5 separate regions of the Homo sapiens genome follow, and all the other regions are linked to region 2. The links are contacts of gene promoters, found by promoter capture Hi-C in blood cells and fetal thymus (Javierre and others, 2016). All regions are on one chromosome and are shown on one strand. Each heading gives the region's core, a stretch centred on a gene start or on the middle of the fragment in contact. The rest is flanking DNA. Distances are from core to core; before and after follow the strand shown.

Evidence for each region. Contacts are between HindIII fragments. The CHiCAGO score rates a contact against its expected background, and 5 or more counts as called.
Region 1: a fragment that was not itself captured here is called in contact with the fragment with the promoter of BLTP2 in region 2 in 8 of 17 cell types (activated CD4 T cells, total B cells, total CD4 T cells and 5 more); the score reaches 14.7 in activated CD4 T cells.
Region 3: a contact is called between the fragment with the promoter of DHRS13 here and the fragment with the promoter of BLTP2 in region 2, in 1 of 17 cell types (activated CD4 T cells). The highest score is 6.0, in activated CD4 T cells.
Region 4: a contact is called between a fragment that was not itself captured here and the fragment with the promoter of BLTP2 in region 2, in 3 of 17 cell types (naive CD4 T cells, fetal thymus and activated CD4 T cells). The highest score is 5.7, in naive CD4 T cells.
Region 5: a fragment that was not itself captured here is called in contact with the fragment with the promoter of BLTP2 in region 2 in 3 of 17 cell types (activated CD4 T cells, total B cells and naive CD4 T cells); the score reaches 7.2 in activated CD4 T cells.

The regions. Positions count from the first base shown.
Region 1 is chr17:28,917,023-28,921,351 of GRCh38, forward strand. PHF12 (PHD finger protein 12) reads right to left here. Exons shown (of 15, transcript NM_001033561.2): 6 at 2,121-2,253; 7 at 263-427. Among named protein-coding and RNA genes, the nearest start is that of DHRS13, 16 kb to the left of the region's middle. The HindIII fragment of the contact is 5,127 bases long and covers 268-4,329 here.
Region 2 is chr17:28,643,817-28,647,945 of GRCh38, forward strand. It overlaps BLTP2 (bridge-like lipid transfer protein family member 2), which reads right to left and starts at 1,342. Exons shown (of 39, transcript NM_014680.5): 1 at 1,173-1,342; 2 at 242-371. The coding sequence starts at 1,240. RefSeq lists silencers at 1,139-1,478, 1,499-1,728. The HindIII fragment of the contact is 8,883 bases long and covers 1-4,129 here.
Region 3 is chr17:28,901,149-28,905,740 of GRCh38, forward strand. It overlaps DHRS13 (dehydrogenase/reductase 13), which reads right to left and starts at 1,931. Exons shown (of 5, transcript NM_144683.4): 1 at 1,670-1,931; 2 at 1,435-1,553; 3 at 345-468; 4 at 1-153. The coding sequence starts at 1,796. It overlaps PHF12 (PHD finger protein 12), which reads right to left. Exons shown (of 15, transcript NM_001033561.2): 15 at 4,102-4,592. RefSeq lists silencers at 830-1,022, 1,524-2,153. The HindIII fragment of the contact is 5,010 bases long and covers 1,009-4,592 here.
Region 4 is chr17:28,955,979-28,960,336 of GRCh38, forward strand. SEZ6 (seizure related 6 homolog) reads right to left here. Exons shown (of 17, transcript NM_178860.5): 8 at 3,720-3,914; 9 at 3,356-3,494; 10 at 3,047-3,243; 11 at 1,969-2,163; 12 at 1,370-1,561; 13 at 1,067-1,264; 14 at 741-779; 15 at 372-489; 16 at 181-283; 17 at 1-16. All of the region lies in intron 1 of LOC105371716 (a long non-coding RNA gene), which reads left to right. Among named protein-coding and RNA genes, the nearest start is that of PHF12, 6.6 kb to the left of the region's middle. RefSeq lists enhancers at 2,970-3,470, 3,471-3,971. The HindIII fragment of the contact is 1,160 bases long and covers 2,370-3,529 here.
Region 5 is chr17:28,933,681-28,938,514 of GRCh38, forward strand. The region is part of intron 2 of PHF12 (PHD finger protein 12); the gene reads right to left. All of the region lies in intron 1 of LOC101927018 (a long non-coding RNA gene), which reads left to right. Among named protein-coding and RNA genes, the nearest start is that of PHF12, 15 kb to the right of the region's middle. The HindIII fragment of the contact is 7,754 bases long and covers 1-4,834 here.

The DNA of each region.
Region 1 (4,329 bases), core at 1,581-4,080, 270 kb after region 2:
TGGTGGGATGGGCTGAAGAGTGCTTATCCTTTGGAAAACTAGAGACTGGTAGACTTCGAAGGCTAACTTGAGGTTCGGCCCTCATAATCCTGACCATCATCCCCAAGTATTAAAATGAAGGTCACACTCATTACTCACGAGACACCACAAACCTATTTCTGGGGCTTCAGTTTCCCTGCCTGTAAAATTGGGACAGTGATCCTCTGTCTAACCCATGATGGCAGGCAGACTACCATCTTGCCTGCACCTGATTGTGACTCACCTTCAAGCTTCTTCTTTTGACCGACTGGAGCACACGCCGGTTAGGGGGGTGCTTCTTGTGGATTCGGTTCAGGAAGTCCACTTTGACGACATGCTGCGAAACGGTGTCCTGGAAACGATCAAACACCTGGCACCGATTGCTCAGTGTCATATTCTTCTGGTTCAGCTAGGGACAAAGCAGACACAACCTTGTGGTGAGCCTCAAAAGGCACCTCCTATCCCAGTTAACCCCATTCCCTGTGTTTAAAAACTAGAAGCCCTCAGCCACATAGGTTCCCTCAATTAGGGACCAGGATGTCGGCACTCTTTGTCAGAGAGCAAGGGAACATGGATGAGACTTCCTACTCAGCCCTGCCCAGTCCAGTGGAAGAGAGCCAATATGTTCCTGTTCCCTAGAGAGCCTTAAGGAAGGCAGGAGAAATTAGCCAAGACGTGCCCTTCCAAATTCGGCCTCTGACAGTCTTCTGTTCCAGCTCAGAGAAGCCTCTGTCAGGGCCCTCTAATAGCAGCACAGGTTTCAGAGAAGACGTATGCTTCGACCCTTAAGAGACCCACACTCCCTTCCCAGGAAGGGCCTCTCTCTAATAGGAAAAGCAGGACTGTGTCCTACATAGGAGCTTGGCTGACAACTGGGTCAGAACCAGAAATCCGTGTGCTCTGCTCTACTCCTACTCCGTGGTACCAAGGAGCATAAGTTAACCCATCTTGATATCAGTCTTCCTCTACTGGAAGGGAAAACCTTGGATTGCTCTTAGAAGCCAAAAGGAGAAAAGAAAGAAGAGTTTCTGCAATAATATACGAAGGCATACAGAAATTATGCCACTTTTCCTATTCTACATCTGGGCTCCTACATTTTAATTCAAAAGAAAGGACCTGCTGTGGCAGCTGCCTAATTCATAAATCAGGAAAAACCTTTAAGTGGCTAACAAAAATTTAACCCACTAAGAATTTCTCAACTGCTAGAAAGCTGCTCTTTAAGTTTCACATTTGGGTAAACTGCTTATGGTCATTTTTTTTCTGGTTCATCAGGAAGCAAAACAAGACTAGGAGAGAAACAAGGAAGCAAAACAAGACTAGATTTTCCTCCTAGAAAAATCTTTGACTGGCATGAGTCAAAAGAACACAAAGTAACTCTTCTCTTCCATGTGTGCAAGTCTTTAACCGAGGTTCCTCTCAGTGCAAGGTCAGCAGCACACTGCCATGAAGGCCAACGGTCATTCCATGGTTATCATCATTTGACAGACAATGTCTTAAGCAGTAGCCTTTTTAATTTGGAAGGCTGCTCTTATGAGGGAGCTCCTCCTCCTCAAATCCTCTCCCATTCAATCTTGTGAGTGACTGTTCTAACTGCCTATAAAGAGATGTCCTAAACTTCTTTTGGAGATAGCAAGTGACAGCTCTTTTCTAGCCTCAGTCTGGAAAATAAACCCAAGACTCTTGGAAGAGAAAGCAATAGGACCTTCACACTATTATTCATTCAACAGCTTATTTACTAAACTTCATTTGGTGCCTGGGACACATGTACCCCAGACAGCCAACGATTTATTTCCTTAAGGTTGGATCTAATATACTCCCCTTTTAGGGCTATAACATCAACTGCTTAATTCCCTATAAGTCACTTACAAACAACCAAGCACTAGTGAGTTAAGTCTGTATGGGCAGCTGAAACAAAACATTGTGAGAAAAAGCATAGCTGAAATATGTCAAAATGATCAGAATTGAGTAGGGTGGCCTGCAGAAACCAGTACCTATGACAATGTGGTGAACTTGGCACCAAGCTGACCTTAATATGCTTTCTGCTAATCAGTCCACGCTCCAGCTATGCCCATTGAGGACTGAATGGACACTGCTGTGCTTACCACCACATGTTCGATGTGATTCGGACACATCCATCTGCCCAGGGGCATGGCAGTGAGCGGCGGCTCGAGGCAATCCATGTGAAACAGGAGAGGGCAATAGTCACACTGGATGAGAGGAGCCACACGGCAACTCCTGCAAAAAAGAGATGTTGGCCATTTCTGTGGCAAGAAAAGGAAAATTCAAACTAACTTTGACCTGTGGAACAGCCTCCCCTCCTTGATCCTAACATTCTCCCCTCCTTGATCCTAACATTCTCCCCTATCTTCCTCCAGTGATTCAGTTACATTTATGATTAGAAAGATGGATGGGGCTGGTGCGATGGCTCACGCCTATAATCCCTGCACTTTGGGAGGCCGAGGTGGGCGGATTGCCTGAGGTCAGGAGACTGAGACTGAGACTAGCCTGACCAACATGGTGAAACCCTGTCTCTACTAAAAATACAAAAAATTAGCTGGGCGTGGTGGTGGGCACCTGTAATCCCAGCTACTCGGGAGGCTGAGGCAGGAGAATTGCTTGAACCTAGGAGGCCGGAGGTTGCAGTGAGCCAAGATGGCGCCACTGCACTCCAGCCTGGGTGACAGAGAGAGACTCTATCTCAAACAAAACAAAACAGAACACAACAAAACAAAAAAACAACATGGATGGATTTGGGGGCTCCCATTAGGTTCTTCATTATTCTCTCTTCTAAGAAGAACATGTCTTGCGGGAAAGTGAATGTTTATTTGGAGTACAGCTAAAGTGGCAGAGTAGGGATGATCAATGCTCAGTACTCACTAGGGGAAAACAGTGAACTCTGCTCTGATCTTCCTACTTCTTAAAAGAGAGAGCCTACTTCATTAAAAAAATCACTAGCAACCTTTCTGGAGTCTTAACTATAGCAAGAAAATATTTCTCTTCTGCATGAAGCACTCAGCAGAACTGACAATTAGAGGTGTGCTGGAAAGATGATTTTGTAATGTATTCATGTAAGCAGGGTTCAAAAGAGGACTAAGCAAATGACAACTACGATTTGTAACTACAATACTCCTGGGGTCCCCAAGATGCACTGGAGCCACAGTTTGTCCTGGCTCAGAGTTCTGCCACTCTACTATCTAGTTCCCTTTCCCTATACCTTTTGCTGTGAAACATTTCTTTTTGATAGTTACTTTCTCTTGCTACCCTGCTCTGACCATAATACAGTCCTTCTAACACACCCAAGCCAACAAGTCCAGCTTCAGTAACTGAAGCAGCTGGTTTCTGTCAAAGAGATCCTATTTGAAGGAAACCAGTGTCCCAGAGACTATAACTGGGGCAGCCCTAGGGGCTTTTGGAAGTCATCCAGTCCAATACACACTATCATAGATCCTTATACTACTTTTAAACTTATCTTTAGTGATTCAAGTTAATGTTTAGTTTAAGTCCAACTCCTCTTGTTCTAGTGTGTAAACACAGTTTTTTTGAGATGGAGTCTTGGTCTGTCACCAGGCTAGAGTGCAGTGGCGTGACCTCAGCTCACTGCAACCTCCGCCTCCTGGGTTCAAGTGATTCTCCTGCCTCAGCCTCCTGAGTAGCTGGGACTACAGGTGCGTGCCACCACACCCAGCTAATTTTTGTATTTTTAGTAGAGATGGAGTTTCACCATGTTGACCAGGATGGTCTTGATCTCCTGACCTCATGATCTGCCCGCCTCGGCCTCCCAAAGTGTTGGGATTACAGGCGTGAGCCACCACACCGGGCCATTGTTTTTATTTATTTTTATTTATTTTTTTGAGACGGAGTCTTGCTCTGTCGCCCAGGCTGGAGTGCAGTGGCGCGATCTTGGCTCACTGCAAGCTCCGCCTCCCAGGTTCATGCCATTCTCCTGCCTCAGCCTTCAGAGTAGCTGGGATTACAGATGCCTGCCACCATGCCCGGCTAATTTTTTTTTGTTTGTTTGAATTTTTAGTTGAGACAGGGTTTCACCATGTTAGCCAGGATGGTCTCAATATCCTGACCTTGTGATCAGCCTGCCTCGGCCTCCCAAAGTGTTGGGATTACAGGCATGTGCCACAGCGCCCGGCCCCTTGTTTTTGTTTTAAAATACAGGGTCTCGCTCTGTTGACCAGGCTGGAGTGCAGTGGCGTGATCACAGTTTAGCCTCCAGGGCTAATCTGCTTAAGCCTCTGGAGTAGCTGGGACTACAGGTGCGTATCACCATACCTGGTTCATTAAAAAAATTTTTTTTTGTAG
Region 2 (4,129 bases), core at 92-2,591:
CTGTTATCTTTCTTCTGTATCTTTGTTATGTGCCCTGGACACTCTGTGTCCTACAAACATTTTTAACTGAACAACTTGCAGCGTTCTCCAACTAGCTCTAAGATCATCTTGGCAAAGAAATGGCAAGGCTGGGATTAACTAGAAAAGCCACCAGGATTTCTATTTTTAAAAAAAGGAAATTAAGAGTTTAAATTCAATTGGATCAACCCTACACACATATCCAGAGTTTCCCAGAACTCACCACTGTTTGCTGGTGTTGCTGAAACTTAAGACTGACATTCTGGATCCAAAAAAAGCGGAAGGAGCCAATCTTTAGCTCCGCCTGCAGCTTCCGCTGACACCACTTGGTGGCCAACCGGACCACAAGCCACCTGCAGAAAAATTCCTGTTAATTCATAGGACCTTTTTCCAATGATGGTTTCCCTCACCCCTTGCTGGTCTTTCAAAGCCTTGCAAAAGGTCGTTCCTGAAACTGGATCTGAGCAACTCTCCTTTCTTCCAAAGCACCACTCTGTCATATACATTCAGCCACGCTGATCAAGATCCTAGCTCCCGACTGACCCCTCCACCCAGATGAAACCAGAAACTGCACCCTCTAAGTTGAAGACAAAAACAAAATCCCTCAAATTGTTATGAATCCCAGAGGCAGAGAGAGAAGACCCCAGCAAGAGTCAAAGCGGAGGCGGCTCTGTCACATGTGCCATCACACTCCCCAGAGGGTCTGTCTGTCTCCTGCTCCCACCCTCCAGACAGGTATCCACGAGAAGGCACTTTGAGGTCAGACCCGGCAGCTCGAATGCTGTTCTCCCCAGACCGATGCTGCAGGTGCCCATCGCGCTTGGCGAAAGGGACATGCAGGGGTGGGTGGAGGGGGAAAGGGAAGCCACTGAACCAGGCCCCTTCCTCACACTCCTATTCAGTTCCTGGCCTCAGCATTTCCTCAGACCCCGCCCGCTTCCTCAGTCTCCCCAACTCGCAGCCCATCCCTGGGAGCTCGGGCCACGCGCCTCCTCACGATCCCTCCCCTCGCCGCGCGCCCCCTCCCTCCACCCTACCCACTCTGCCTCACGCGCCTCAGTAAGGCGCGCGCCCCCTCCTCAGTCTTTCTTCCTCCTCTCCGCCCCCTCCCTCCCGCCGCCGCCGCCGCCGCCGGCGCGGCCGGGAACCCTCACCGGCCTAGAAAGAGGGCGCTAAGCGCAACTAGCAGCAAGACCAACAGCGCGGAGAAGAACAGAGGCATTTAGGTCCGGGTCCGGCCCGGCTTGGCCCCGGCCCCCGCCATGCCGGGCCCCGACGCCGGATCCGCGCAGCACCGCCGCGGGCCGACCAGCTGCGCGCGCAGGAGCAACGCTGAGCGAGGACGCGCTGGTGCGCACACGAGCCCCGCCTTCCGCAGCCCGCCAGCCAACCAACGGCCTCCCACCCCAGTCCCGCCCTGTCCTACGACGCTGCAGGGCCGACGGGCTGCGTGCGCGAGGAGCGGGCGTGGTTCCGGGAGGAGGGCGAGGGGGAGCGGACCAAGAGCTGAAACACGCCCCGGGCGCACACCACGGTGCCCGGAACCGCGGGGCTCGGGGACCCGCGGGGGTCGGAGTCCGGGCCCACTACCTGGGCTGGCGGTGGACCTGGCTGACTCATTTCGGTCCGGGGAGCTCACTTTGAGGGGAGTTGGAGTCCGCCTAGCCACTTAGGCCTGGACTCAGGGTTCTGCGGAAGTTACACCCCTGGTCAGACGTGGTAGCACTCCCATCTTATTCAAGATCCTGTTTGAAAATTACTGAGGCAGAAACTAGGAGGTAATTAAAAGGCCTCAAAAATCTCGCCTCATTCCATCCACAGAGGAAACTAATGAGGTTTTGTTTTTTTTTTCTTTGAGACAAGGACTCGCTACGTTGCCCAGTCTGGTCTCGAACTCCTGCAGGCTCAAGGGATCCTCCTGCCTCAGCCTCCTGAGTAGCTTGGACTAAAGACGCGTGTCACGGTTCCTGGCCAATGAGTTTTTACTTCATTTACTGTTTGAACACTGTTCTGGTCCATCTACTTATGGCACGAACTGGGCCCTGATGGAGGAGAGGAGGAGATACTGCAGAAGTAGTGAATATTGTTCTTGCCCTTTAGCAAAAAATAGTTTATCTGGGAAGCAAACATAATTACATAAAGTAGACAATACATAGTCAGTTTTGCCTGCTTCCTTCTGTGTAGTTTATCTGGGAAGCAAACATAATTACATAAAATAGACAATACATAGTTTTGCCTGCTTCCTTCTCTGTAAAATGAGAGAACAGGACAAAGGTCCCTCAGCGTTACTGTGCTAAGGATCAGTATCTGAATGATGATCTACTGATACAGCACAAGCTAAGGAAATCCTGACGGTTTCAAAATAAGTATTATGGAGGAGGTCATGTCTCTTTTCATACCCCTTCGCTCCCACGTCCTAATCTCCATATATATCCTTCAAGATTTTACTCAGAGCCTCTCTTTTTGGCTCCCTCAGATAAAACACCATTTCATCTTTCACCTGTGTGTTGCCCGAAGTTGCTTTCACTCCTCTGATTGTTTCCTCCCTTATCTATTCCTCTCTTCAGTGATTTCACATCTCCCCAAGAGCTCCAGCGCTGCTGTTTCAAGGTCATACTTACCTCTCAAGCACTGTATTTGCGTCATCTTCCTCGTCATCTGCAGCCTTCCCCCAGGGTATGTCCTCCGAATGCTCTGGGAAGGCCCAATTCACTGAAAACCTCTGTCCAAGTCAAGGAGGGGTGCCGTGCAACACGTATCCCTACTCTGGTTCATCTTATCCAATCTGTTTATTGAACCAAGATTCCTGTCACTTCCTTCCTTCTCCCTTGACTATTACCGGCCCTACTCCCAGCCATCTCATAGCCTAAAATGTTGATTTTATGATTTGTCTATTTCTTTCTGGAGAGATCTTAAGGGATCAACACAAGTGAAGTGGAATAAAGGCAGGGAGTCGGGGGTGGGGGGTGGTTGAGGCAACAGTGGGGCTCAACTAATTCATGGCCTCCATTTATTGAGACCACAAGCCCTTGTAAAAGAGACCAAGTCTTTTAACGTCACGGGCCATGTTTGGCACAGAAATGGTGTCTCTAAATGTTCAACATTAACAAAACAAATAGAAAAAAAAAGAACAAAACCCGGAAGTTTCTAAAAATAAAAAAAGCCTGCTAGTCACTGAAATTCCAGCAGATGGCAGCCATCTCCGTTCACCAATACCATGATTGGAAGCTACAGGAGCAAATTTTCTGCAATTGACACAGGAAAGGAGGAAATCAGGTAGGCAGAGGACAAAAGTAGTTTTCTATCCACCTTTTTAGAGAGATATATCTACGTTTGTCCAAAAAACAGGATTTGTTTTCCAAAAGCTAAACACAATCGTAGTGCACTTAAAAAAACCTGAGTCAGAAACAGCTGGATTCCTATTCCAAAATGATTTATTAGTTTTAAGAATTCAGGCCGGGCACGGTGGCTCACACCTGTTTTCCCAGCACTTTGGGAGGCCAAGGTGGGCGGATCACAAAAGGTCAGGAGTTCAAGACCAGCCTGGCCAATATGGTGAAACCCCATCTCTACTAAAAATACAAAAATTAGTCAGGTGTGGTGGCGGGTGCCTGTAGTCCCAGCTACTCAGGAGGCTGAGGCAGGGGAATCACTTGAACCTGGGAGGCGGAGGTTGCAGTGAGCCGAGATTGCACCACTGCACTCCAGTCTGGGCGACAGAGTGAGACTCCATCTTAAAAAAAAAAAAAAAAGAATTCAGGCAGTAGGCCAGGCATGGTGGCTCACTCCTGTAATCCCCAGCACTTTGGGAAGACACAGCATAAGGATCACTTGAGCCCAGGAGTTCCAGACCAGCCTGGGTAACATAGTGAGACCTCATCTCTACGATAAATCAAAAACTGACACAGGAGGATCAACTTGAGCCCAGGAGGTCAAGGCTGTAATAAGCCATGATTGTGCCCCTCCCACCTAGGTGACAGAGCAAAGAACTTGTCTCAAAAAAAAAAAAAAAAAAGAATTCAGGCAGTTACTCAACTGCTGCACTGATAAAAATGCAGTATTACCCTATATGAATTCTGTGAAGATTAAATGAGGTAAGATCTATAGGCCG
Region 3 (4,592 bases), core at 681-3,180, 260 kb after region 2:
GACAGTGGGCAGCTGAGGCTACCACCACCACGCGGCTAGGGGCACATGCCTTCAGGCAAGGCAGCAGCAGATGTGTCAGCAGAAAGGGACCGATATGGTTCACCCGAAGCAGCAGGTTAAACGCCTCACGGGTCCGGCCACAGGAACTGATACCTGGGGCAGAGGCTAAATGTGAGCGGCTGCTCCAGAAGGAGCTCTGCAGCCTTGGCATCCCTATCTATGAGATGGGAGAAGGGGGCATCCTTCCCATGTGTCCACTGGCCCCAGCAGGGCCCCCGCTGGAGGGGGCAGTTGCCCCTGGCCACCCGCCACCCCACCCCCACGCAGGGCCTGCTGCCCCTCACCGGCATTGTGGATGAGGATGTCCAACCGTGGCTCAGAGCTCAGAAAGGCAGTGGCAAAGGCCCGCACCGAGGCCAGACTGGCCAAGTCCAAGGCCATGAAGATGACCTCATTGTTCCCACTCTCCTGTGGAGAGGCAAGGGCTGGGCTTGTCACCAGGCATCTCTCTCCTCTTCCCTCTCCCCAGGCACCAAATTCTGAGAGTCCATCTCCTACTGTTTACTAAAATCTGCCCCTGTGTCTTAGAGTGTACTAGATAAGTGTGTGGATTCAAATCCTGACTTTGCCTTTTACTAAAGTGTGACCTTGGGCAAGATACTTAATCTCTCTGGGTCTCAGTTCTCTCACTGCGTAAAGGGAATAATAATAACAACAGTCCCAATCTCACTGAGCTTTTGTGAGGATGAAAGGAGTTAACGTGTAAAATACACTCTAGCAGCACTGGGTAGGTACTTGCTATTATTATTATCACCTCCTTTCCCCATTACCATTTACCCTAAAATCTGTAACTTCTCACTGGTCTCCTCTCTCCCGCTCTTGCCCCCCCACTCCAGGCACCACGCAGCCACAAAGGAGTTCCTTCCAAAGGCTATTCTGACAGTCCGGAGCCTACTGAGGGCTGTTCATGGTCTCCACTGGTCTCTGCTGCCCAATCTATAAAATCCAAGCTTCTCAATAGGCTCTAGAATGTTCTCCAGCCCCCTCATTTGCCCATCTTCCTCATACTTTGTGCTCCAGCCTCATTAAATCTTTTTCTCAGTTTTTCAGATCAGTCCAGCTCTCTTTGCCTCAGAGCCTTTGCTTATGCTGTGCCCTCTGCTGTTCCCTTTCCTACTGATCATTAACCCAACTTCTACTGATGCTTAAACGTCTCAGAACTGCAATTACGGCCTTCAGGAAGCCCCTCCCCCACTCGGCTCTGGTGCGCCTTCCTCGGGTGACCCCAGCGCTCCGTGCACTCCCTCTTCGCGCTCAGCCGCCCGCGCCGCGCTCTCCTCCCTGGACCCGGATCCTCCGCAGCCCCTTTGCTGGCTTCTCTGTGTCCCGGCGGGTTCTCGGCTCACCGTCCCACGCGCCCCCGCTGCCTCTCACCTGGCGGAGGTCGAAGGCAGCCGCCTCCCCGCGCTCCTGGCTGCGGCAGGCCAGCACCACGCGCGCTCCCCGGCGCGCCAGCTCCAGCGCCGTCATCTTTCCGATGCCGCTGTTGGCGCCTGCGGACCGCGGGCGGGAGCCGAGCTGAGCTGAGCCCGGCGGGCCGCTGCTACCGCCGGCCCGGCCTCCTCTCCGCGCGCCCCGCCAGCTCGCACTCACCCGCCTCCGCACTCACCCGTGACCACGGCCGTGCGGCCCCGCAGGTTGCCCATGCCGCCGCACGGCGGGGCCTTCACCAGGTTGTAGTAGACAAGCACGTAAGCGCCCAGCAGCAACCCCGCGCCCAGCAGCAGCGCCTCCATGCCGGCCGCGCCTCCCGGCTCCCGCCCAGGCCCCGCACCGCCCTGGATCGCCGCCAGGCGGCTGCCGATCCGCCCTGCACAGGCCTGGAACGGCGCCCGGGCGCGTCAGCCTCCGAAGGCGGAGGCGGGCAGGAGGCTGGGCAGGGGCGTGTGCGCGTGCGGGTGCGCGCCGGCCCTGCGAGCGCCCCCTAGGCGTGCGTCGGCGTCCTGGGGGCGTGTGCCTCTGTGGACACCTTTGAGGTGAGTGTGTGCGCTTGGGCCCTGGGAGCGCCCCCTAGGTGTGTGCCTGTGTGAACTCCTGGGTGTGTGTGTCCACGTACACCCTGTGAGTGCACGCTAGGTATGTGCATGCATCTGCAACGCTTGTATGTGAATGATCTCTAGGTGTGTATGTGCCCATGTCCCTGAGGATCACCCTTTGGGTTGTGTGCGTGCCTCTGGATCCTGTGTGTGAGCTCCTGTAAGCACCTTGTAGGTGTTTGTGTGCATTCTGGCAGAGTCCCTCCAGGTATGTGCCTGCATCTGTAGTCTCTGCCAGTGCATGTGCTTGCATATCTCCATATGTTTACTCGAGGTGTATGTAGCACAGTCCCTCCCTTCTGAAGTTAGGTGTGTACATGAATACACGTGTGTCTTTGAGTCTAGTCCTAGATGCTTTTCCCTCTAAGAACAAATCCTTCTCCTTCCTTCCCTTCTGCACAAATCCTTCTCCTTTCCTTCCTTTCCTTTCCTTCCTTCCTTCCTTCCTTCCTTCCTTCCCTTCCTTCCTTCCTCCCTTCCTTCCTTCCTTCCTTCCCTCCCTCCCTTCCTTCCTTCTTTCCTTTCTTTCTTTCTTTTGAGACGGAGTTTCACTCTCGTTGCCCAGGCTGGAGTGCAGTGGCGTGATCCCGGCTCACTGCAACCTCCGCTTCCCGGGTTCAAGCAATTCTCCTGCCTCAGAATCCAGAGTAGCTGGGATCACAGGTGTGTGACACCACACCCGGCTAATTTTTGTATTTTAGTAGAGAAGGGTTTTCACTATGTTGGCCAGGTTGGTCTCAAACTTCTGACCTTAAGTGACCCACCTGCCTCAGCCTCTCAAAGTGCTGGGATTACAGGTGTGAGCCTCTGCACTGGGCCAAATCCTTCGTTTTCTTATCTTCACATCCAGCCCCCAGCTTCTAGGATTCTTCCGTGTTCTCCCCACACAGGCTAGAGAGGACACTGTTAAAGGTGGCACAGGCAGTTAAGGGGTGTCAGAATTCACTCCTTCATTCCCCCTCTGTATCTCCCTACCTCAACCCCACTAGTGCCTTCCATGGCTGAAGGGAAGCAGGAAGAGATAGAGAGTAAAATCTGTTATTGCCTTTCAGGAGGAAATTTGCCTTTGGAATGGTTCTCATAGGTGATAAGAGACAGGCAGAGAAGCTCCATCACTCAATTACAAGTGACCATGATGGCAGGAAGGGTGGGGCTGGCTAGGAACAAATGGGTAAGACCATTCCAGGGCAGAAGGCCGTTGCCTGATACATTCAGTACAATTTAGAACCTGGTATTTGGCACTTATGGTGTGCCCAGCAGTGTAGTTAGACTTGGAAATTCCGAGTGGAAGATATACAAGTTTCTGTCCTTAGGGAGTTCAAAAAGCCCATTAGGGCACCGGGAGCAGAGTGATGACGCCTGCATGGGCAGATGAAAGTCAGGGACAGACCTCAGATTCCAGGGCCAGTTTCCTATTTAGCTGCACTGCGGATTCGGGTTTCCATTGTAGATGCTGTGGGATGAGGCTGGGGGTAGAATATTCATTTTCTATCCCTAAGGCAAAATCCTGACACACAAGCAGATGCACCTACACAAACAGTGCTGGAATATACACAGAGGTGCTCTCCATCTGAGGAGGCTGACCTCAGGAAAACTTCCTGGAGAGTTTTTCACTAAGATCTGGGAGGAAAGCATGGAATTTGGTTTAATGAAGGTCCCCGGGACTTGAGAATTAAGGTAATGCAGCAGACTCGTTTTTTGATGAGGAATAGCAGTTGTAGAGAAGTGTGACTGCAGATCACATGACTAGAAGTGACAGGTCAAGACTAGATTCCACTATCAGTCAGGGTTCTCTGGAGAAACAGCTCCCCCCGGGCCAGCAGACGCACCCATGTCATTCCATTGTCATCCACCCACCCTGGCTCACTTTTCTCCAACACCTCCCCTACCAAACTTCCCTATGGGAATGAGACCTGTTCAAAAGGCCCCCCACCTGCTAGACCCAGATCTAGGGGAGGGTCTCCTCTAAGGGTGATGACAGGTAGGACAGACAGTCAGAAAACAATTTGAAGTATTTTTGTTTTTTATATACAGAATACAGGAAAGTTTCTGTAAAGTCTAAAACATTACAATTACTATGTACATTGGTACTGGTTGTGGGGGTGGGAGGAGAGGAGGGAACCAGGGGCAGGAGGAAGAGGAGAGAAGTGGCAAGAGAACAAAAAAAGGAGACAAAACAGGTTTACGACAAAAACATTTTTGCTACAATAGACAATTTGAGAAAACGCTCTACCACATGTAGTACTGTACACGGTTTTTAAAAACATTGAAAAAATGTCATCACTAGATGTATTTACACAAAATCCAAATACACTTTTCCTTATTTGAAATAAAATAGATGGACAGCCAGAAAAAGAATTCATTTCTCATTTGTCCATAATACACAGTAGCTACCTGTAGTGCAACCGCTGCAGAAAGGGAAAATAACGTGGAGGGTGGGAACCATGGAAGGAAGGTGGGTAGCGATCTTTATATTAAATAAAACAATGATATTGT
Region 4 (4,358 bases), core at 1,700-4,199, 310 kb after region 2:
CTGCAAAGGAAAGAGACTGCTGGGAGTTGGAAACTTGTATTAGGTTTGCCAGGCCATAATTCACCTTCCCTAGGAAAAGGGAAAAAGTGAGAGGGCTTGGCAGGACCCTCAGGGTTATCTGCCCAAAGAAGCAAAGAACTGGGTCTTGGATAGGGTGGCAAGGCTGGCATGGTTACTTACTCCAGTCTCGTAAGTTGGATTGTCAAACGCTGACTCTATGGTAATGCGGTTGTAGGGGCGGGGGCGGGGGCGGGGCAGCTGCAGGGAGCTTTTTCCCTGGAGCCTGTGGGGCAGAGAAGCCTGCAAGTCAGGAGCACTGGGTAGGAGTGAGGTATGCAGGTATGCAGAGCAGAAAGAGAAGCCAGACTCACCTGGAGAAGTAGAAGTATACACCTCCTACCAACAACACCATCGCCACCAGTGGCAAGAAGATGGCAGCTGCAATGTGGGCAGCATCCAGGGTGCTGGAGGCAGCAGGTGCCTTGGCAACTGAAGACACAGAGGGTGTGACTGGAGCAGAGGTCTCTGTCACCTGGAGCCCATATTCTCTCACCTCTGCCCAAGGGCATCTGACTACCAGCTCCCTCTAGCTGGCTGGGTGTAGGGAAGGAGCTTTTTAACCTGCTAGGCCCAAACCTCTCTCTTTCTCTGCCCTCCCTCCTTGGGAAGCCCATGACCTGGGAGCCGTGAGAACCAGGACCAGGGAGACCACTTCTCTGGCCTCAAGGGTGGAGACTTACCATCCAGGCTGCGACTGTTGTAGAACCCATCCAGAGAGGCTGGAACAAAAGGGGAGGGCCAAGGGCAGTGAGTGAGCCCAATGGGCCAAACCACTAAGGCAGGGAGAGGAGGTAGTGGGATGATCATGGGAAGGATTTGTCCAAGGAGAGGCCACTCCAGCATTTGTCTTGGTGATGCCAGGTCAGAAGGATCTGGCAGAGACTGGGGAGACCAAGGGTAACATGAAGGTGGCATGGGCAGGTGGTTCTGGTTCTAAACATTGGACATCTTTGCCAGAGCAGCTCTATGGGCCAGGGAGGGTTTTGAGGGGTGACAGGGCACTCACCAGCCCTACAGATGGGTGGGGGGTCACTCCAATGCGAGGGGTGCCCAGGCACACACTTGATGCTGGCCTGGCCCTTCAGCACATAGCCAGGGGCACACGAGAAGTGGATGGTGGCCCCTGCTGGGTGTAGCTGCTTCTCAGGACTTCGGGCACCATTCTCAGGGGCACTGAGACCATGGCATGGCTTGAGCTGTTCCACTACAAAGCAGGCAGAGTGCAGTGAGGGTGTCATGCCCTTGGCCTCCAGGGCAGCATCTTTTATCTCCAGCTAGAGGTTTTCCCTCCTACTCAATTGACACTTACGGAGACATTTAGGGGCCCGGTCACTCCACTTGGGGCTGCCAGCCTGGCGATCATGGCAGGTGAGGATGGAGCTGCCCATCAGCACAAAACCCTGGTCACAGATATATTGCACGGTGGCCCCCACGGGAAACTTGGGGCTGGATATGAGGCGTCGGCTGTGCTCCACATCTCCAGGATCGTGGCAGGAAGTCACTATGGGTAGGGGGTGATGGGGAGAAGTAGCCCAAGGAGAACTAAGCAGAGGCCAATCCACCCTGGCTTTGTTCCAGGCCAGCTAACTTCTTCATGTCGTATGGGTCTACCCCCTACGTATCTGTCCCTACCATTATGCTAGTGTGTCCCCCCATTTGTCCCCTTCCCATCTATTAGGTTCGATAAAAACTGATTGGCCATCTACCAGGAATGAAATACTTAGAGTACGTGGCTGATAACCCCATGAAAAGTATCATCCCCATTTCACAGATGAGGAAACTGAGGCTATAAGAGGTGAAGGAACTTTGAAGATACTAGCTAATAACAGCTACAGTCTGGTTCAGAATCCAGGAGAGAGGTTTGGAGTTTGTGTTGGGAAGGGGAGCGTGGGGAACAGGTATACTCACCCCTCTGGCATGAGGGCAGGTCCTCACTCCAAGTTAGGTCCCACTGGCACATGAGGACACTGGATCCCACTACCTGGTAGCCAGGGTAGCACTGGTAAGTGACCACGGTGCCGTGCACTAGCTCAGGCTGCGATGGGCTCTTCCAGCCATTGGGGATCTCAGGCAGCTCCGGACATGTGTCATTGCGGGGCACCTCTGGGGGCACAGAGGCACAAGATGCAGGCCCTCGGCCAGCACCAAAGTGACTGTCCCCCTCACCTTGAGGGCACTCTGGCTCCTGCTAGTTTGTCCTGGACCTAGACTGTCCTGGGCGGGCTCAGGGATCCATTCCTCCCTGCTCAAGGGCCCCTCCTTGACTGCCTGACATTGCTCTGTCTCCTAGATTCCAGGGTTAGCATTTAAGCTTTGGCCTTACTTCCAAAAGCACCTTGACCAGTTCCTTAGGCCTGAGAGATGGGGCCAGGTAGGGTGAGGGAAATCGTCACTTCTATGAAAGATTGTCAGAAAGATAGAAGCCAGCACCTTTCCTTAGTTCCCCCATTTTTGTTTGAAAGTTGTTCTGGCCAGGTGCAGTGGCTCACACCTGTAATGCCAGCACTTTGGGAGGCTGAGGTGGGCAGATCACTTGAAGCCAGGAGTTCGAGACCAGCCAGGCCAACATGGCAAAATCCGGTCTCCACTAAAAATAAAAAAATTAGCCAGGCGTGGTGGCATGTGCCTATAATCCCAGCTACTCAGGAGGATGAGGCACGAGAATCGCTTGAGCCCAGGAGGTGGAGGTTGCAATGAACAGAGATCACACCATGGTCTGGGTGACAGAGGGAAACTGTCTCAGAAAAAAAAAAAAAGGAAGAAAAAGAAAGTTGTTCTGCTGCCTACCCAAACCCCTCTTGCCACTATAGAATTCTGGCTCTCCCTCAGGGCAGATGGAGAACAGGACTAGCTTCCTCCAGGTGATCCCTGGTGCTTTTCCAGCTTACTCTTGTCTGAGACAGCATTCAGGCACCTCACTGCCCTAGCCTCTTTGGCTTGCCATGGCTTGCTGTCTGCACTCTGAGTGGGGTAGGGACAAGCTCACCAAAGAAGTGGATGACGAAGCCCTGCTGGTAGCCCAGCACTGAGGTCCCGGGGTCCGACTGGAACTGAATGGTGACATCAGCCATGGAGGTAAAGAGCTTGAAGTGGCTACGGGGCCCTGAGTACTGGCCCAGAACCCGGGCCGTCAGGTCATCCCCATCATAGAAGGTAAGCACATCACCAGGGCCTATGCGCAGCCTGTGAAGGAGGAGCGTCAGGGCAGAGCCGGCCTGGGGGCCCGAGGATGGGCTGGACAAGGGATATCCCCAGACCTCAGGAGTTGGCTCGGCCTGACCCGGTAGGCACTCACACTCGGATGTCCAGCATGATGCGCTTGTCCTCTTCCACATGCACACCCCAGATACAATCCTGCCCACGACCGTAGGGCTCTGGCCAGTTGGGAGAGAGTACCACGCCAGCCGAGTCTGTGATCTCCCCGCTGCACACGGCTGGAAGGCAGAGGAGGCCCAGAAGGGTCTTTTCAAGCTTACCATGGTGTTGCTTACCATCTGCCCGCAGGAGTGCCCACAAATTGCTGGGACCCCCCACCTCCTCCTTGGAGGAAGCCTGAACCACGCATATCACAGGGCCCCTGTGGCCCCGGGCTCTGCTGCTATTCTCCTGGTATGACCCTGCCTTTTGCCCGGTAGGCCCATCCACTGGTGTCTACTGACCTCGGCAGGCTGGCTCTGTCTCATTCCACTGGGGGTCGTGGGGGTCAACACACTCGATGATGATGGAGCCCTGCTCCAGGGTGTAGCCAGGGTCGCAGCTGAACTCCACAGTGGTACCCACAGGGTAGGTGGGTGTGCTGCTGCTGAAGTTACCGTATTTGACAAAGGGCTCATAGCAATGGCCCTGCTGGAAGGCTGTAAACCACAGGTCCCAGCCCAGCTCAGCCTTGACTGGTATTAAACACAGTGGGCAAGCATCCCCCTACTTCCCTCCCCAGAGCCTTTCTTTTCCTGGGTACGAATGACAAATATATGTCCTGGGGTTGGAGCAGGAATGTGATGGAGGAGGGACAGCCAAGAGCATCCATCCCTATTATGCTCAGGAGGCCATCTTGATTACCATCCTGTTCCCACTGCCTGGTTTTGTGCTTAGTACACAGAAGGTACTCCATACATGTTTTTTGAATGAATTAATCAATGCATGCATGCATAAATGGTTCTAGAATGTCTCTTACAGCAATTCTTTCTTAAGGGTTGAGGCCTTTTTTGCTTTTCAAAATCTGGAGAATTTATTCCCTTGGACCATAGGGCCTGGGTCCAGGCAGAGGTTTCCTGCAAAGCTGTGGTAGGGATCCCGGA
Region 5 (4,834 bases), core at 998-3,497, 290 kb after region 2:
ACTTTCTCATCAATGTACTAGGTACCACACTGAAAAATGAACGCAAAGCAAACAAATTATCATCTACCCCATCAAAAAAGTAGTCTAGGCCAGGCTGTAGCTCATATCTGTAATCCCAGCACTTTGGGAGGCTAAGGTGGGAGGACTACTTGACCCCAGGAGTTAGAGGCCAGGCTGGGCAACATGGTGAGACCCCATTTCTACAAAAATACAAAAATGAGCTAGATGTGGTGGCATGCATCTGTAGTCCCAGCTACTTGGGAGGCTGAGGCAGGAGGATCACTTGAGTCCAGGAGGGCAAAACTGAAGTGAGCCATGTCCACACGACTACACCCCAACCTGGGCTTCAAAGCAAGACCCCGCCTCAAAAAAAAAGTAGCCTTGGGGAGAGAGGATCAAAATCATCCATCCACTCAAAAATTATTGGATGTTTATTTTAGGCTAGACAATGTGCTAAGTGCTGGTATTTCAGACATGGTTCTTGATTTTAGGGATCATGGGCTGGAGATAAGGTGAAAAGGACATGCAGTAATGAGAACATACATAATCAACTACAAACTGATTCTTACCATAAAGACCCACATAAAACTCAATTACTTATGGATGCCAGAATCAATGAAGAGCCCCAAAGTTTGGACATTTGGTACCTGAAGGTGACATGCGATTTTTTCCTACTCTTTTCATAATTCAGAGCTATTTAACAAATGGTAATTCAGCCAGTGAGCCTTTAAAGACAGTGAAGTTAAGGATCGTGAGGAGTTCAGGAGGAAGCCATAGTTTCAGAAGCAGGTATATTTCTGCATTTTGATAAAATACCTGATAAAAGGAAGGTTCTAGCAGTGGAGACATTTCTTCTGAAAATGAATGTTTAAGTCTGTCTAGAGCACAATAGTGTTTGAACCTTTCTTTTCTTTCTTTTTTTCTTTTCTATTTTTTTTTTTTTTTTTTGAGATGGAGTCTTGCTCTGTTGCCCAGGCTGGAGCGCAATGGTGCGATCTCTGCTCACTGCAACCTCTGCCTCCCGAGTTCAAGCAATTCTCCTCTGGAGTAGCTGGGATTACAGGCACCCGCCACCACGCCCAGCTACTTTTTGTATTTTTAGTAGAGACAGGGTTTCACTATCTTGGTCAGGCTGGTCTCGAACTCCTGACCTAAGGTGATCTACCCGCCTATGCCTTCCAAAGTGCTGAGATTACAGGCGTAAGCCACTGTGTCCAGCATGTTTGAACCTTTAGATTCCTTCTGAGAATTATCTGAGTACTTGGGATGGTGAGCTCTGGAATAGTTGTCTTCTGTACCTGAACTGGCTTGTCTTGGAAAACTGGTAGCTTTTTAGCCAACAAGCCAAGGACCTCTACTTTATTTTCTGGCTTCAAAAGAGCATAGCCTGCATTGCTATGAGACATGCATTCTTTTCCATAGGCAGAGATGACAGTGCCCTATGAAGACAGAGCTCTTGCAGAGTATCTTCCCATTTTCACTGCTGTTGATAAATTTCCTACCAGATCATTTGTTAAAAGGCCCTGGCCTACAATTCCTGGCCAGAAAGCGACCGTTCACTGCTTTTACAACTCACTATTTTATTTTATTTATTTTATTTTTTTATTTTGAGATGGAGCCTCACTCTGTCGCCCAGGCTGGAATGCAGTGGTGCGATCTCAGCTCATTGTAGCCTCTGTCTCCCGGGTTCAAGAGATTGTTGTGCCTCAGCCTCCTGAGTAGCTGGGATTACAGGCATGCACCACCACACTGGGCTAATTTTTGTCTTTTTAGTAGAGATGGGGTTTCACCACGTTGGCCAGGCTGGTCTTGAACTCCTGACCTCAAGTGATCCGCCCTCCTCAGCCTCCCAAAGTGTTGGGATTACAGGTGTGAGCCACCACTCCTGGCCCCAGCTCACTATTTTAACCACTACCTGATCTTAAAGACATGCTGTTAGTTATAAAGCTGTTCATAACAGTAAAGCCCTAAATCTTCAGAGACTGTACATTCAATTGGAGGGTATGTTTCTCAGTTTGGTGTGGCTCTCTGTGAGGCCTAGAGGGCCTACAAAGTGTTAAGAGTAATATTAACATACAAACCAATTCCTAAAGCCAACCTCTTCAGCATGACTCCAACATACCTAGACTCCCATAAACAAATCCAAATGGCCCATCTCTACTGCTGAGAAGGTTATCTAGATCAGTCTATTTCTGGAGTCATCAAGGAGAAAACCACAAACATACATCCCTCAGCTAACTGTAATGCCTATACTGACAGATTTCTGTTTCAAAGATTCAAATCGAAGCCCAGAGCCAGATGATCCCAACTCTCAGCCCGAGGTTAAAGTTCAGTTTTAATTTAGAATGCCTTGCATTCACTAATAAGGCTGCAGCTCAACACTGCAAGTAGAAGATGTTGGTAGTTGTCATGGTTCTTGGCGCTCTAATTAAGAGGATCTATTTCAAGTCATATACCAGTGTGGTTGATCTGAGTCTAACCTCACTCATCTCCCTCGCCTATTAATACATGTGAACCTGCACGACATTAACATTTACTTCAGATTTAGTCGCTACCAGTGGGACCTGTTGCTCCACAGCACCATGTTAATTATCCATCCAGAACAAGCAGTTTCTCAGTCTGGAATTGGAGGGGAGAGCGGGGGATGGGGGAATAAGAGAACAAAGGGAAGAGGCGAGAGGTAGAGGGAGAGAAAGCAAGTAGATGAAAAATATTTAAGAAAAAGTACACTCCATTTTCTCTTTCTGGATTAACAAAATAATTCTATTTAATACAAATACTTAACAGGAACACTATGTAAATAGCATATCCATATACAATACACCAACAGCCTACTAAGCAGGTTCTCTTCCAAAAGAGGTCAGTCACATGAACTGGTAGGGTCTTTCTTGTCAGAACCCGTAATTCTTCAGGAATCAGAAGCTCTCTAGCCATCTATAGCAGTTTCAGTTTCAGTCAAAATAAAACATCAGTTGGACTAAAAAGAAAGAGTTCACTGCCCCTATCATCATCTGTATGCCTCCCCACCCTTTTTTTTGGTGGGGGAAGAGGTGTTCAGCAAGCAAACAATAGGACTGAGCAGTTTTGATTTTTAATTTCACAGTTCACGGGGCTCATCCATCCATCTGAGGACCACTACCAGATAAAAATCCTGCAATTATATTTAGTCTCACTGTGTAAGACAAACTGCAAAACATAAATACATGCTCAGAACTAGCCTACTCTCCCTCAGACTGGCCCTGCGGCCCTCATCCAGCTCAGAAAATGTGTTGATACTAGCCAAAATGGGGAGTGAAGGTGATCACTGAAAGGACCACAATCATGTCTCAGCCTCCTAGCAGCCATTTTGCTCTATAAAGGGAGCCATGAGCACAGAGAACCAGCCTTTTATAAACGAAAACAAACTTATGTCCTGGAAAAGCTAAGTGGTGCTGGGTAAAGTTTAATTTAAATTTTAATTTAAATTAAAAGTTGCATTAATACACCCAAATTTTAAAGTGCATGCCTTGAGGGAACAACATTTAATGAAATGTAAATGTCAGCAGAAATAGCTAGCTTCCTCTGGACACTTGTGTGGGCATCAGCTTTTCTCTTCAAGTATGGCCTGTCTTTTGCAGGAAGATAGCTATATTGAAGGATATTAAAGAGATGGAAGGAGAAAATTCATAGGGTCCCTCAACCTTAATCCCTTATCCTCCTTCATCCTGGCTACTGACTCAAACACCACTAATGCCACAAAGTACATAAAAAGGTACAAGGACTGTTGGGTTTCTCATGCAAAGCCTCAGTGAGAGTGTTAACAAGGAAACAAATGAAGTGCCAGAACATTACAAATGCCCCATTGAGAAACTTAGCTAGTTGCGTCACTTCCACAGGCAAACAATCCTTTTAAACTGGCTGACTGTGCCCCCAAGTTTTATCGCCTTCTATGTAGAGCTGGCTGGTGGCATCTTCCCGGTAAAGGACACCTGGATACGAGTGTTACTAGTTAGTACAGGGAAAAAAGGAAGCAGGGAGGGTAGAGCACTGACAGTTATACCAGGTGTTTGCCTCTGCTAACTTTTCTACAAGCTGAGCCTCAGTCTCAAGGGCCTGATCTATCACTAGCCTGGTTTGGCTATTCTTGCAATTCTGGCTTCTCTACAAAGAAAGATGGGCTGGGGTGCAAACATTTTAAAAAGGGCCTTCATTAATTCACCTCATGATTGATGCTAGAGCCCACCTGTTTTGGAAAAGGGACAAAATTCTGGCCTCAACGGTAATTTTCTCACACTCTTGGGAACATTCCATTGGAAGGAAGAACCAACAACTGCCAACTCTGTATTCTGGAAGAGTCTCAGAGGTATGGAAAGCTGGGTACTATTCTATTGCCAAATTTTAACAGACTATCAAGAAAAAGGAAATAGCCAGGTGACACACTTCTTGCAGACACAGCTCAGGAATGTGGGCCAGTTTACAGTTTATATATATTGTACCTAAAATTCTATAAAGGCTCAGAAAACAAAAAATACTAACAATGTATTTAAAACCCAACAAAATCAAGAGAGCAGGTTTCTTTCTTTCTTTTTGAGATGGAGTCTCACTCTGTCATCCAGGTTGGAGTGCAATGGCACCATCTCAGCTCACTGCAACCTCCGCCTCCCGGTTCAACTGATTCTCCTGCCTCAGCCTCCTGAGCGGCTGGGATTACAGGCAGGCACCACCACACCCGGCTAATTTTTGTATTTTTAGTAGAGACGGGGTTTCACCATGTTGGTCAGGCTGGTCTTGAACTCCTGACCTTGTGATCCGTCCACCTCAGCTTCCCAAAGTGCTAGGATTACAGGTGTGAGCC